4 separate regions of the Homo sapiens genome follow, and all the other regions are linked to region 1. Evidence: promoter capture Hi-C in human tissues and cell types (Jung and others, 2019). All regions are on one chromosome and are shown on one strand. Each heading gives the region's core, a stretch centred on a gene start or on the middle of the fragment in contact. The rest is flanking DNA. Distances are from core to core; before and after follow the strand shown.

Region 1 (3,446 bases), core at 247-2,746:
GTGGGGGGAGCCAATTCAGATAGGAGGTGGCCTAGACAAGGTGAGGGCATCTCAAAGCGACACCAAGCCTGGGTGAGATCACGTCTGGAGCCACAGAAGGATGAAGCAGTTTATATTTAAATGCCATGGCAAAACAACATCCCCACCATTACACCCTCCATTCTCATTCAAGTTCTTCGGGAGAAAGGAAAAATATGGTCGGGTTCATTGCTATTCAGTTTTGAAGTTGAGCCTGCATTTGGACACAGGCGCTTGGGAGAGTGGGTCATTTTCTTTGACACAATTATTAAGGAAACCGTTTTAAATGATTCCTTGAGTCCCCCAATGGCCCAGGTGGAAGGTGCTGTTTCCTGGTACCTGTCCAGCCCTCTGAGCTTTTCTCTCAGCTTCCAAACGCTGCAGTTGAGAACTAGCAGATCCTATTGGTAGTGCCCTGTGGCCCACACTCCTTGGTAACGGTGAGAGTGGGGAGTAATTAGGAGCGGCTGCCATGGGCCAGGCATTCAGGTCAAGGCCGAGGATGGTGGCCAGGGCCACAGAGCCAGGGGACGGGTGGGGACCCAGCAGGCCTGCGGCTGGCCGCTTGCTGAGCGCTCCAGCAGCGGGGCCCTGGGCGGATGAAGGGCCGGAGAAGGCCCTCTGCTGGGGCCGCGGCGATCTTGCAGCGCCTGGACACCGAGGCTGGGGCACTAACGGTCCGTGGGGCTCCCGACGTATTCCTCTAACTTCCCCTTTCTGTCCTTTCGGTCTGGGGCCTTTTCAACACCCCCTGTGGCCGGGGACAGCTGGGGCAGAAACCGGCAGGCGGCAGAAGCCTCAAGCAGCTCTGACCTCTGGCACCTCCCCAAGACCCAGAGCACAACATCTGTCCCCAGAAATCCCCGGGCGGAGAAGAGCGCGCGCCAAGCCCTTCCTGGGTACTCAGTATTCTCCCTTCCTGGGAACAGCCTGCCCTCTGAGGCCTGGGCACCCGGGTTCCCGAGCGCCGGGTCCCAGCCCCGCGGGGGCGCCTCCGCACCCCATCTCCGCGCCCGGCGCAGAGCCGCCAGTCTCCGCCGCGGGGCCCCGTGCCCCGCAGCGCCACCTAGGGGCCGGGCGCCGCCTCCCGCCCTCAGGGGCACCCCCCTTACTCCGCAAGGACTCCGGGTCTCCCCAGTTCTCCCGGCAGCCGGACCCTCCCAGCCTCGGCCGCCGGGCCGCCCTCCGCATCCCAAGCCCGCCTCCCGTGCCTCCCCGGGGGCGCACCGGCAGCGAGGAGCGGCTCGGCGAGGGCGCGCAGCGGCGGCCCAGGCCCAGGCCTTGGGGCTGGGGCTGAGGGGGTGAGAGCAGGCGCGGCCGGCGGGCAAGGGGAACCGGGCGATGGCAGCGGCGGGCGGCCGCGGGAGGCGAGGCAGCGGCGGCGGCGGGCGGCGCGACGAGCCCCTGTGATTGGCACAGCCGGAGCCGGAGGAGGAGGCCAGGGGAGGGCGGAGGCGGGGGAGGAGGAGGAGGAAGGGGCGATCGCGGCGGCGGCGGCGGCGGCGAGGAGCTGTGCCTTCCACCTCTCCAGCCCCGGCAGGACGGGGGCGGCCGCCGCGAACCCGGGGCGGGGACAGCACGCAGCCTCGAGGCGCGCACCCCCGCCCGGCAGCGGCCCCGACACCCGGGGCGAGCGGGAAAGCGGCAGCGGCGGCGGCGGCGGCGGCGGCGGGGGAAGGATGCAGGGGAAGAAGCCGGGCGGTTCGTCGGGCGGCGGCCGGAGCGGCGAGCTGCAGGGGGACGAGGCGCAGAGGAACAAGAAAAAGAAAAAGAAGGTGTCCTGCTTTTCCAACATCAAGATCTTCCTGGTGTCCGAGTGCGCCCTGATGCTGGCGCAGGGCACGGTGGGCGCCTACCTGGTGAGTCCCCGAGCCAACTCCGCCGCGGGCCCCTTCCCCAGCCCGGCTCTCGAGCGGCCGCCTGGCCCGACGAGGGGGCCGCCCGGCGCTGGGGGCAGGCGGGCATGACCTCGGCCCGGCGTGGAGGTTGGCGAGTGGTGCAGAGGCGGCCGCCGGGGGAGCTGCCGGCCGGGGCTGCCAGCGAGCGGGTAGCGGGCGGGACCGTTGATGCCGGTAGCAGCTCGCGCGCGTCCGGCTGGGGCAGGGGGTGCCGGGGGAGGAGAGGCGGCGGGCAGGTGGGCGTGAAACTATTCCTCTCCCCCCATAAGAGCGGAGCGAGACGGTGAGTTCAGGGTTCTCCTTGGAGAGGAACGAAAAAGCGTCGGGGTTTTCAGGTGACCTGCACATGGGAAGAAAAACCAGTTAGCATCCTGCGTCCTCTACTCTCCATTGCATCCTCCTCGAGAACAAATCTATTATGCATCATTTTCTCCGGGCGCTTTCTACATCCGCCAATTACAGGGGGATATAACAGCTTAGAGTGAAATGCGCCCTAGTGTGGCCCTGGCCTGAGCCGGGGCTGCAGGGGGAATATTGCCACCCGGTATCCCTATAGCCCTCTTTGAGCGTCTGGGATAAAGTTACGGTACCTAGAGAGCAGCTGCGAGTTTGTGTAGTTCCTGCTATCCACTCTTAGTGCTAAATTCCCCATCGTGGTCTGTCGCCTACAGAAGGTTGCACCATTTTCCACAATGAATATGTATTTTATTTGCCTCCAGAAAGGGGATGTTAATGCTCAGAGGGCCCATGGGTGCGTAACATTTCAGAGGAAACAGCTTGTAATGACTCAGCACTGTCAGGTACCTACTTTGTCGCTTTCGCCTCCTCTGCTCAGGTGGTCGCAACTTGAGTTCCAGAGAGCGTGCTTCCACACCTAAGTACAGTCCTGTCTAAACGGGAAATTTTTTTTGAGAGTTTATAGTGTTAAATCATTACTTGGCTATTGACCCGCAACTGGAATCAAATGTCATAGACTTTGAGTATTCCTGAGCAAGTTTGATGGAGATAGAATTGGACAAGATTTTGGCCATTGAATAACCACATCCAGAGATAGAACCACGCGTATCCTGATGCTATGATTAATCCCTCATTCCTGGCCTTGGGGTAAAGTTCATGAGGGCCAGACGCTGGGGGCTGTATACCATTCATAAACTATCTCTTAAGGCTCAGGGCTCACTGTTAAAGGGAAATACAAGCAGTGCTTGGTCTCCGGTGTTGAGGAAGTTAGGTGGTTGTGAGAGAGGGGGTCTTCAAACTCAGCTCTGTTCCTGGGGTGACAGAATTTCAGGGCTTTTGAAAATCAAATACATTTCTGTTGCTCATTCTGAGACGAAAAGCGTTTACATCCCGGTCTCTGTCTTGTGCATTCGTAACTTGTAGACTGCAAGTGAACCCTGTAGTCAAAAGCATACCTTGTTTTCTGTTCTATAAAATACACTTATTGTGTCTATAGTTATAATATGCAGTTGCAGACAGTACCTATTAGCCCTTGGAATTTGAGGGATAGGGGATAATTGTGTTTTGGGAGTC
Region 2 (3,446 bases), core at 330-2,829, 190 kb before region 1:
TAAAGAAAAATGCCACCGTGAGCAGCTGGCAAGTGGCACTGACCCTAATCTTCATTGAGTAGAGGGTGGCTGAGACTTCAGGGACCTGGCAAGCATGTGCTCCCTCCAAAGGGGCATAGCTACCCGGCCAAAGCTGACTCTGCAGAATATTCATCAATAGCTAATAAATGAAAGAACATTTTTGATGGCTATGTGAATTCTCCAAGTTTTATAAATGTTGGCTCAAAAATTTTTAAAGTACCTTATTTACCAAATCAATTACTCTTGCGAGTGGGATGCAACCACTGCTAGTGGAATAAACAAAGTTCTGCTCTAGAAGTCAGAAAAATGAAATCCTGGCTCTGTGTGTTACTGTTGTGTGGCCTGGGGCATTACTGGACTGCTTGGCTCTCAGTTTCAGCACTTGCAACATTTATGGGTTTTTTTGTTTTTCTTGTTTTTTGTTTTGTTTTTGTTTTTGTCTTTGTTTTTTGATAAATAAAGCTTCCAGCAGAGGGTCTTGTATATACCAGGTCTTTAATAAATGTTAGGTGATTAAAAATGCACCTACAAAAATCTATTATCATAAGATGATGTATCAATTAGACAATGCAGATAAAGCAATGGGCAAAATTCAGTACCCATTCTGAACAAAACTTATGTTAAATACAGAGACTCTTTCATGATAGGGTTACTACTTACACCCAAAGTAATTTAAACCTCATGAAAGATGCTTTCTTGAAATTGCATTTAATATTTTCCACTGTAACCTATATCTTATTCTTAGTTAACCTAGCTAAGATCTAAGACAGAAAAGGCTTGAGAAGATTTCCACTCCCCAGGCAGGCAATCAAAGCCTACATGATTTCCCTAAGATCCCACAGTGAGTCACGGGATGCAGGCAGCATTAGATGTCAGTATTAGTCCACAAGATAAGTGAGCAAAGATATTTCCAACACAACATTTTAAAATGTCTTCCTTGGGTGCTTGGTTACTTCAATTATTCCAGGATGATCTGGTGATATCTGGTGACTTTGTTTGGATTCCAAAATGCCATACTAAACTCAACAGGTGGACGTCCTTTATCTTTGGATTCAAGGAAGAAATGAAATACCCAAGAAGCAAAGGGGACTTGAGATGCGGAAGAGTTCAAGAAGGTAGCGGAGTAGTATTTGCCAGTTTTCAGTGTGTAAATACTCCTTCCACGGCCAGTTTCAGGCTACCACTGTGATGTCAACCAGCTTGCCAATTTTTTGAAAATTTAGTAATCAGCTCTTTCATGCCACTTGAAGTAGACTCCAGCACAACACCAGCTCTGCCTGTCTTCATTTCTGTGAATTACCACCTGAAAACATGGCTTTGATGATCACATACTTGGAATAATACTCTTGTTTTTGTTGTTGCTTTTTCAATTTATTTTTAATTGCCCCAAATTATTTTTTTCTGGTACCACTCATATGTAAAATGCAAGTAATTTGCTTTTTGGCTGTGGCATGGGTATAAATCCTGCCATATGAAAGAAGAGAACATCTTATGGCTATACCCTTTCAAGCATCTCTCCTCCAGCTCTTTCTGGCGTAATGCCTGATGGAAGGGAACAGCTCATAAGTAGAGACTGAGAAATATGGTAATATTTTGACTTATAAATGTTTCTGAACATTTCTCTCTGTCAGGATTGAACCAATCTTGTCCTAAGATTCTTCTAGCCAAGAAGCTGTTGTACTGCTTTAGGGTACAAAAGAAGCTCCAAACACCATGATGACTAAAATAAGGGAAGTAGAGGAGAGAGGGAAACCCCGGTGATCCTAACAATAAGAACAAAACCAATATATCATATTTTTGTGGCCTTTTAGATTACAAAGCACGTATACACACATTCTCGGAGTTCTGGATATTGCATTTTAAGAGGACATTGATAAATGGGAGAACATCCAGAGGAGACCATTGACAATAAAAAATACACTGCAGGATTGTTTACAATGGGCCATGGACTCTACCAGTGGTTTCACCTGTTCAATCTTATTTAATTCTTTCAACTCTCCTATGATCTTATAGAGGAGGAAAACAATAATCAGAGATTATGATTAGCAATTTGTCTTCTCTCATGTATTTGGTGAATGATGAAGCTGATATTTAAAACCAAGGAGTCTGATTCCAAAAGTTGTTCTCTTAATAGATAGTATTCAAACCATGTTTTGCCTGAAGTAGAGATTAACCACTGACATACTAAATGTTTCAAGTTCTCAAAAGCCCCTCATCTAGATTGAGGAATTACATCTATGAGTGTCCCCAGAAGAAGGCACTAAGACCAGAATGTAGAAAATGCTAAAAGCTGACATGGAGACAAAATAGGCTCATCTTTCTTTAGCAGAAGCCTGAAATGGAAGGAACCATCTTGGGCAATCATGATTTTCTCATCATTAACTGATGCCCAAAGACTGGATTATAGGTTTGGGGTACTTCTAGGAAGAATATGGACTAAGAAGTGTAGTTTCAATTAGATAACCTCCCTGTGCTGTCCAGTGCAGTAGCCACTATCCACGTGTGGCTATTTAAATTTAATTAATACTGAGCATAAATTAAAATTCAGCTCCTCAGTCATACTAGTCAAGCGTCATGTGCTCAATAGCCATCTATGACTAGTGACTATCGAGTTGGTGGACATGTTGGGTGTGCAGATGTATAGAACATTTCCAATATTGCAGAAAGTCCTACTGGATGGTGTGGTTCTGAACTATAAAATCTGCCTTTTAGAATTCTCTGTGATTTTGAGAAAAGCAGGATGAGTAATAATTCTGATTTCGTGAATGAGAAAATTGAGGATAGAAACTTTTTTCCTAGCCTAAGTGCTAACACTTCATGATCCTCGGATGCCTACACACACCTTGCTCCCCATCACCAAACACCTGTTTCCACCACTGCAGCTGCAGCTGCTGGGCTGTGGGTGTGCAGGCAGACTCCCTTAATTATTTCCAGTGCTTCGTTTTTGTGGCCATAGGAGAACCTGGTAATGTGCTGTTTGGTGTGTAGATAATTATCAGTTATTCGTGACTCCCCTTTCATTTGCCCACAGAGCATTTCCTGAGATCTTTGAAAGCAACTGGGCCACAACGCTTTGTGGGCAAAGAGAGGAATTATAGTAGCTGTGAGGAAAATAAATTGTGATGTCAGCTTGATTACAGTGTTGGTTACTGCTCAGTCAAAACTTTGTGATAAAGAGCCTTTCCACAGGAAATTCATTTACAGATACCATCTACCATCTAGCACAGCACCTCCTGCTGACCACCTCGGCAGCAAAGGGAGTGCTACAGGAGTACCCGTGGTCAGCTTGGTATTGACATTAGGGCGGATCCCTGTGGAAGGTGCAAGCCTTGCAGTACTTCCTCAATCCAATAGAATTGAAATTTATTCATCTCAACATTCAGGCAACTGATTTAAGAGGAAAAGCATTCAAGACCTGAGGTGCC
Region 3 (3,446 bases), core at 400-2,899, 150 kb after region 1:
TTCATCTTATGTATCTTTACGTGCCCAAGTCCCCCAGCTCTGCTCTGAAACATTCTGATAGGAAGGGCCATTCTGTCATATTATTTATTGCTATATCTCTCTAGTGCCTGGAACCGTGCTGAGCATAGTATACGTGCTGTGTAAATGTTTGTCGAGTGCACTTATGCGTGGTAGGAGGTAGTTAATTGATGGTTGAACACTGACTTGCTGAAATGACTTACACATGTCCTGTCTCACCCCTAGTGGTTAGTGCTAACAAATGTCTCGGCTTCAGAGAAGATACACTATGGAGTATACATTCCTTTTGCTTATTAGTACTTTATTAGTTTTTCATCAGCTAGCCTGTCATGCATTGGCCTCAGCATCTATCAACAGATCTTGTCATTCTGCCTCCCCCTTCCCATCAGAGGATGTCTCATCAGTGGACATCTTGTTAGTGAATACCTCGTTATTCCTTCATCAGACCTTCTGTCATTTTCTCAGCTGCGTTGATGAGAAATCCCAGACTTCATGGGAAAGGTCAGGAGTTGGCAAATGAGAGCTAGACAAGATTCAGTAGTGACATGCAGTGGTTGTCCTGTGGGATGAAGGGCTTTCGTGAGTGATACAGTAGGTATACACAACAGTTAGTTCCCCATGGAATTCATGGATACGGGGCCAGGATTACATGCACCACCAGCCAGAAGATGACACCAGGTCAGCCTGGCCAGGCTGTGGGTCGGATCACAGCCCTTGGCAGTAGGTTTGAATGAGGTGGCACTGGAGTAGGCATTGCCTGGCAGTGCTCCCCATCAGCACTGCGCAGCTGGGGACCTGCTGCAGAAGGGCCATGCTCACACTGCTCAGCAGCTGTAGCTGTCAGCCTCTATCATGGATTCTGATAATCGTCCAGATTAACTGAAATGTGCAAAATAGGTTGGTGCCTTATGGTATGTGGTACGTGGACCGTCTCAGGCACTGGTTATAGGGGCAGATTCCTGGATCCCACCCAGACCTTCTGGGAGAGGCTCTCTGGGGTAGGGCTTCGTAAGTATCAGCTTTAACATGCTCCAGTCTGTGCTAAATCACAGGAAAGGTGGAGAGCCATGCTGGACTAGCTGGGAGTCTGGTTTTTGGAGCTGACAGACCTGGACAGGTTCTAGGCTGTGCCACCTGCTAGCTGTGTGATTGTGGCATGCAGCCCTGCTCAGCCTCTGCATCCTCCTATACGGTGAAGACCATGACGATGGTGTCCGTCTCATGGAACTGTTAGGATTAAGTGAGATAATGTATGCAGGGCATCATAGCACAGCATATGGCCTAACACAGGCAGCTAAGAGTATAGCTGGTTAGGCAGTGATGACAATGATGATGACTATCCGTGGAGAGGGGAGTGGTTTTAGTAATTCTGCTCCACGCAGCATTAGAAGAGTAGATGCTTGAGTAGTGTTGAAGAGATGATGAATTATTGGCCATTTTATTGACAAACAGAACACCAAAAACCAAAGATACTCACTCCCTGGATTAGATGTCACCGTAGTCTGTGTATCAACAAAATCTCCAAAGTGATTTGGAAGGACACTTTGAGTTTGGCAGGGGATAGATGCTGGTGAGTGAGTTGGAGAACTAATGCAGGTGCATCCCAGAAGCAATAGTTGGAGCTTCTCCCAATTGTCCCTCAAATGCATTAGTCCCGACTGAAATCTGGTGGTTTGTGTAATGTTAAAAACATTCTTTTACTTTTCATCCTGGATGCATCTATGGCCTGCATTTGAGCTCCTACCTAAAGTAGTTCTGTCTGGCAGAGAGCAGAAGAACACTCCAAGTGTGGTCTATGGCTCTAAGCTCTGAAAGCCTCATCATTTCCTTATGGGGATAATTAAAAACTCTTTTAAAGCCTCTGAAACTCTCTTATTGAACCCTAATAAATATCAGTGGCTTTATTTGCCACAACTTACTAAAAAGCAGAGCAGTGGTTAAATGAAAAGATTTATGATATTTGCATTGTTTATTTTGAAGCATCTAATTAAATAATTAGTTCAGTCTTCTAGCTGTTTTTAGAAACAAGTCTTTAGAACCCTACAGAGAGATTTTCTGGGCCCAGGAACTCATTTGGGGAAGTGATTGGCCTTTGAACAGTAAGTAGAAAGTCATCAAGGTAGCTCTGCCCACCTGGTGTTTGCTTATGGAAACCATCTGCTGGTTAAAGTTCCTGGCTCAGAACAGCCCTAGCCAGGCAGTCACAGCCTGCACAGAGGTGCAGTGATGGCCATAGTGTGCCGAAGGGGCTGATCGCTTCAAGAGCGTCTGGAAAGTTGATGGTCTATCTGTCACTGCGATCTTGACATCCTGTGTGGTTCAGTCTGGTTGCAGTTGGACTCATGCTGGGTCTGGCGGGTAGGTGAGAATCTCTACCTTGCTGTTGCTGTCCAGGTTTCAAGGCAAGCGTGAGAGTAGTCCTACACAGAGGAAAACACACATTAGGCTCAAGCACCTGCCTGTGCTTTGCTGCTGCTTGTTTAAAGGAGTGCTTGGAAATGCCAGCTGCCCAGCCTCTAGAGAGCTGGGGGGATGGACCCCTATCCTGTGAGAAGTTGAGTTTGAGGATACACCTGACCGCTGAGGGATGCAGAGCACACCTACGCTAGCTCACTTTTACACAACCCGATAGATTTCTTGATGTTATGCACTGGATAATTCCCTTGTGGCCCAGTCACCTTCCCTTTTGTAGGGATGGCCTGTCTATGTGATAGAAAGTACTCAAGCCATGGAATCAAGTGGATGTGAATTCCACTGCTGAACCTGCCACACACTGACTTTGGGACTGAGCGAAAGCGTTTCTGAGACTCAGCCCTTCTAACTCTCACAGGAGGAATGGAATAGCTAATTGCACCCAGTGAGGGTTAAAAACGTCTTGTATGTGAAAGGAGATAATGCCACACCAGGTGTGCTCAGGCTGTGTCTGTTAGCAGCTGAGTTGCTCTGTCGTCTCATGCTTGGGCGTGCTGTTAGGTAATTTGCTAATCTGTTTTTTATAAAGCCTAGAAAGCAACAATCAGAAAATATTAAATTCAGAGGTTAATTAGGTCTCTCACATAAGCCAGGTTGTGCTGGAGTTGCCTAAAAATTTTGCATCCTTTCTAACTTCTGCACTTCGAGAAAGAGCAGGGCCTGTTCGCCATCCTGGTTCTAAGAGCAGATGGTCTGCCTGACCAAGAGCTCAGAGGTGACATTAGTTAAAGATCCATGACATAAGCTACAGCTTCTATGAGCGCCAGATTGACCTTTGTTAGAATGAATGAGTTTTACTGGACTTTGGTACAGCTACTGAGTTAGTTCAAGAGCACAGGTGCTTTTTGGTTAGAGGCATATTAGGTCATGAGCTTGCTAGAAGTCAATCTCTGTGAGTCTTTTTCCCACAAATAATGAGTGCTGGGGTTCATGCTGGTGACTGTTTCCTACTTTGA
Region 4 (3,446 bases), core at 316-2,815, 130 kb after region 1:
GTCTCTGTGAGCATTACTGTCCCTGGGTTTTGGTGAACATATGCCCACATTTATGTGGGATGCGCACCTAGGAGTGGAATTGCTGAGTCATGAGGTATGTTCATTGTTAGTAATACTGCCCAAAAGTGTCAGTGTACGTTTCCTAATGAGCACGGGTTGAGGAGCAGTTCCACGCTCACCAACACTTGGTATTAGTGTCGTCTTTTTAGCTTTAGCTGTTCTGGTGGATACTGTCAGCATGGTCCTTACGTCAGACAATGGGGTCCCTCAGGCCCTGTGTCACAGAGGGCCCTGCACTAGTGCTCCTCAGGAGTGTGCCAGTTCTGGAGGGTGGTTGCTTGCAAAGGGCCACAGGACCACTTCCAGGGCCTGCTTGTCCTGCAGAAGGTGGCCTGAAGGGGTGGCCAAGAGATGCTTCTCATCAGAGACAGGACGGAAGGAGGAATGAGTGCACGGAGCTGGTTCCTGTGGGCTTCCTAGTCTACGTGTAGGTGGGGGAGGCCTTCGAGGAGCAGGATGGAGCCCTGGGTTGGGGGAAGAGGGTGCCATGACCAGGGTATGGCTCTCCCCCTTGTAACAGGCTTCCAGTGCCAAGGAGGCTGGGAATTCCACATTTGGATCTGGTCCTCTGAGTTTACATTCCCTTGAGGAGCGTGACAAGGTGAAACCAGTGGAGGTGGGCTCTGGGAGCACCTGGTGGGCAGAGGCTGAGTGGCATGGCTTTTTGAGAGATGAGGGAGTACCTGCTAGCCACCATGCTCGGCCTATATTTGCCCTTTCCTCGGCTACTGTCCAGGTAGGGGTGTGATGGTGGGCAAGCAGCTGAGCCTGGGTCAGGGGGTAAAGAGCCTCCCTGGCTTCCTGGGGAAGAGGACAAAAGGTGGGTGTTCACCCCATGGGATTCCGGGGAGATAAGATTAGGGAGATGGGGAAGTGGCTGTGGGTGCCTATTGGCAGCAGGATCCTTTCCTTCCATCCTTGCCTGCCTCCTAGAGCTCACTGTCCCAAAGAAAGGTAGTATGAGTGACAGGTGTCATTTTAATTCTCTAGTAGCCATTTTTTTTTAAAGTATGCAGAAAGAAGTAAAATTCATTTTATGTTGACCTAATAGAGCCAAAATATAATTTCAGTAAGTGATCAATGTGAACATTACTAGTGAGACGTTTACATTCTTTTAAAAAAAAAAAAAAACTAGGTTTCAAAATCAGATGTGGGTTGACACTTCCAGCGCACCTCAGTTCAGACCAGCTGCATTGGTTAACCTCCTGGACAGGGCAGCCCCAGAGGGGATCATGGCCTTTGGTGCGAAATGAAGTTAATTTGGGTTTGTACTCTCCATAGCTATTTAATATGAACTGTTGCTTTTTCATAGTTTTGATTTTGTTATGAAGATATATTTGTAAAAATAGGAAGATAGAACATATTTTAAGTTTGTTAGGTTGAATTTAAACTTTTAATGTCAAGGCATATGGGGAGAAGGGTATCTCCATTTGTACCTTTGCCCATAAATTCTGGTAGCTGTCAGCGGTCAAGAGAGAGGAAGGTTGGTGGTGGCCATGGTCAGATGCTGTCCATCTCAGTGTATCCAGGCAGGGACACAGGCAAGGACCATTTCTTACTCATCTTTGGGGCTTCACAGCCCCAAAGATTCTTTGCAACCTGAGCAGAAGTTGCTTTTTATCGCTTACAGATTTGACATTTTCTAGGAAGGTGATGCAGGTTTTAAAAACCGTATAGTTGAGAAGAGTGGCAGCAATAATCAGATAATAAGGGAACAAAACCCAGTTCTTTGCGTTGTGTCGGTAGGTGCCACATGAAGGGGGAGCATACATCTGCCTTTTTTTCCCCCATATTCCTAGAGCCTAGTGTTCAGTAGGTGCTAATGAATTAACTTGTTTATTCAACACGTATTTACTGAACACCTATCATGTGTCAGGTGTCAAGTGATGTATTATGCTCTGGGGATACAACGGTGAACAAGACAAAGTTCTTGCTCTCTTGGAATTTATGTATTATTGATGAGAAGCCTGTTTTGTTAATAATAAAGTCAGGCACAGTGGCTCATGCCTGTAATCCCAGCACTTTGGGAGCCTGAGGCAGGTGGATCACCTGAGGTCAGGAGTTCGAGACCAGCCTAGCCAACATCATGAAACTCCGTCTCTACTAGAAGCTACAAAAATTAGCCGGGTGTGGTGGCGGGCACCTGTAACCCCAGCTGCTAGGGAGGCTGAGGCAGGGGGAGTTGCTTGAACCCAGGAGGCGGAGGTTGCAGTGAGCTGAGATGGCGCCACTGCACTCCAGCCTGGGCGACAGAGCGAGACTTTGTCTAAAAAAAAAAAAAAAGATAATAATAATTAATTGTGGTCGCAGCTCAAATGACATTCTGACATTTGATGGATTCTCAAAGAGCTCAGAAGAAAAATAGCAGTTTTCCTGAGTCTTAAAAGATATAATCAGTCAGCAGGCACAAGGGATATTTAAATACCTAAAGGAGGGGTCCTCGTGGCCACGTGGAGGATGTGGGATTTGCCGGCAAAGGATTAAGGGAATCCATTCAAGAACACTTGTGTCAAATTTATTTTGATTTACAAACCCATGTCTGTACCATTCTTTGTCACCTGACAGATAATTGTGTTTTATCACTTACAGATGCAGGCTTTTCTAGGGGCTGATAGCAAGGAGATATACTTTTGAAAAATGGCGTAGGGTTGGGTGCGGTGGTGCACGCCTATAATTCTAGCACTTGGGCAGGCCAAGGCGGCTGGATCGCTTGAGCTCAGGAGTTTAAGACCAGCCTGGGCAATGTGGCGAAACCTCGTCTCTACAAAAAAAATAAGCCGGGCATGGTGGGGGGAGGAGGAGGCTGCAGTGAGCCGTGATTGCACCACTGCACTCCAGCCTGGGTGACAGAGTGAGGCCCTGTCGCAATCAATCAATAAAGACATAGATGAGAAGTGTAGCATCATTAATGAAATAACAAGTGAACGTAATAAATTAACATTTAAAAATAAAACTAATTTTATTTTTAAATGTTATTTTATTTTATTTAAAGAAATTAAAAATTCAGTGAGCCCAAGGAAAACTTGATTACATGGGATGGTTCAGCATGAGACACGATAAAAAGGAAACGTGCAGATCAATTAGTAAAATAATCAAAATCCTGTGGGTCCTTTTCAGTGGTTTTTGAACTTGAGGGGAATAAGAATCACCTGGAGGGCTTGTTCCACCACAGATTGCTGGTCACTGTGCTTATAGTTTGTAATAACTCTAAGGTGGAGCCTGAAAATTTGCAGTCCTAACAAGTTCCCAGGTGATGCTGATGCTGCTGGTCCAGGAACCAGGCTTTGAAAATTCACAGGTTTATTTCATTGCATCACTCATATATGCACACAACAGCTTTATGCTTCAGTTTCATACAGTTAACGCAAGGACAGACCATAAATCCT

Evidence for each region. Contacts are between HindIII fragments. The study calls those that stand out against the background at their distance.
Region 2: a contact is called between a fragment that was not itself captured here and the fragment with the promoter of SLCO3A1 in region 1, in 2 of the 25 tissues and cell types used here (heart left ventricle and mesendoderm cells).
Region 3: a contact is called between a fragment that was not itself captured here and the fragment with the promoter of SLCO3A1 in region 1, in 1 of the 25 tissues and cell types used here (hippocampus).
Region 4: a fragment that was not itself captured here is called in contact with the fragment with the promoter of SLCO3A1 in region 1 in 1 of the 25 tissues and cell types used here (aorta).

Annotation. Positions count from the first base shown.
Region 1 is chr15:91,852,212-91,855,657 of GRCh38, forward strand. It overlaps SLCO3A1 (solute carrier organic anion transporter family member 3A1), which reads left to right and starts at 1,497. Exons shown (of 10, transcript NM_013272.4): 1 at 1,497-1,877. The coding sequence starts at 1,698. RefSeq lists silencers at 919-1,093, 962-1,101. The HindIII fragment of the contact is 13,420 bases long and covers 1-3,446 here.
Region 2 is chr15:91,657,303-91,660,748 of GRCh38, forward strand. No RefSeq gene overlaps it. Among named protein-coding and RNA genes, the nearest start is that of SLCO3A1, 190 kb to the right of the region's middle. The HindIII fragment of the contact is 8,960 bases long and covers 1-3,446 here.
Region 3 is chr15:92,003,100-92,006,545 of GRCh38, forward strand. All of the region lies in intron 2 of SLCO3A1 (solute carrier organic anion transporter family member 3A1), which reads left to right. Among named protein-coding and RNA genes, the nearest start is that of SLCO3A1, 150 kb to the left of the region's middle. The HindIII fragment of the contact is 7,034 bases long and covers 1-3,446 here.
Region 4 is chr15:91,985,415-91,988,860 of GRCh38, forward strand. All of the region lies in intron 2 of SLCO3A1 (solute carrier organic anion transporter family member 3A1), which reads left to right. Among named protein-coding and RNA genes, the nearest start is that of SLCO3A1, 130 kb to the left of the region's middle. The HindIII fragment of the contact is 6,552 bases long and covers 1-3,446 here.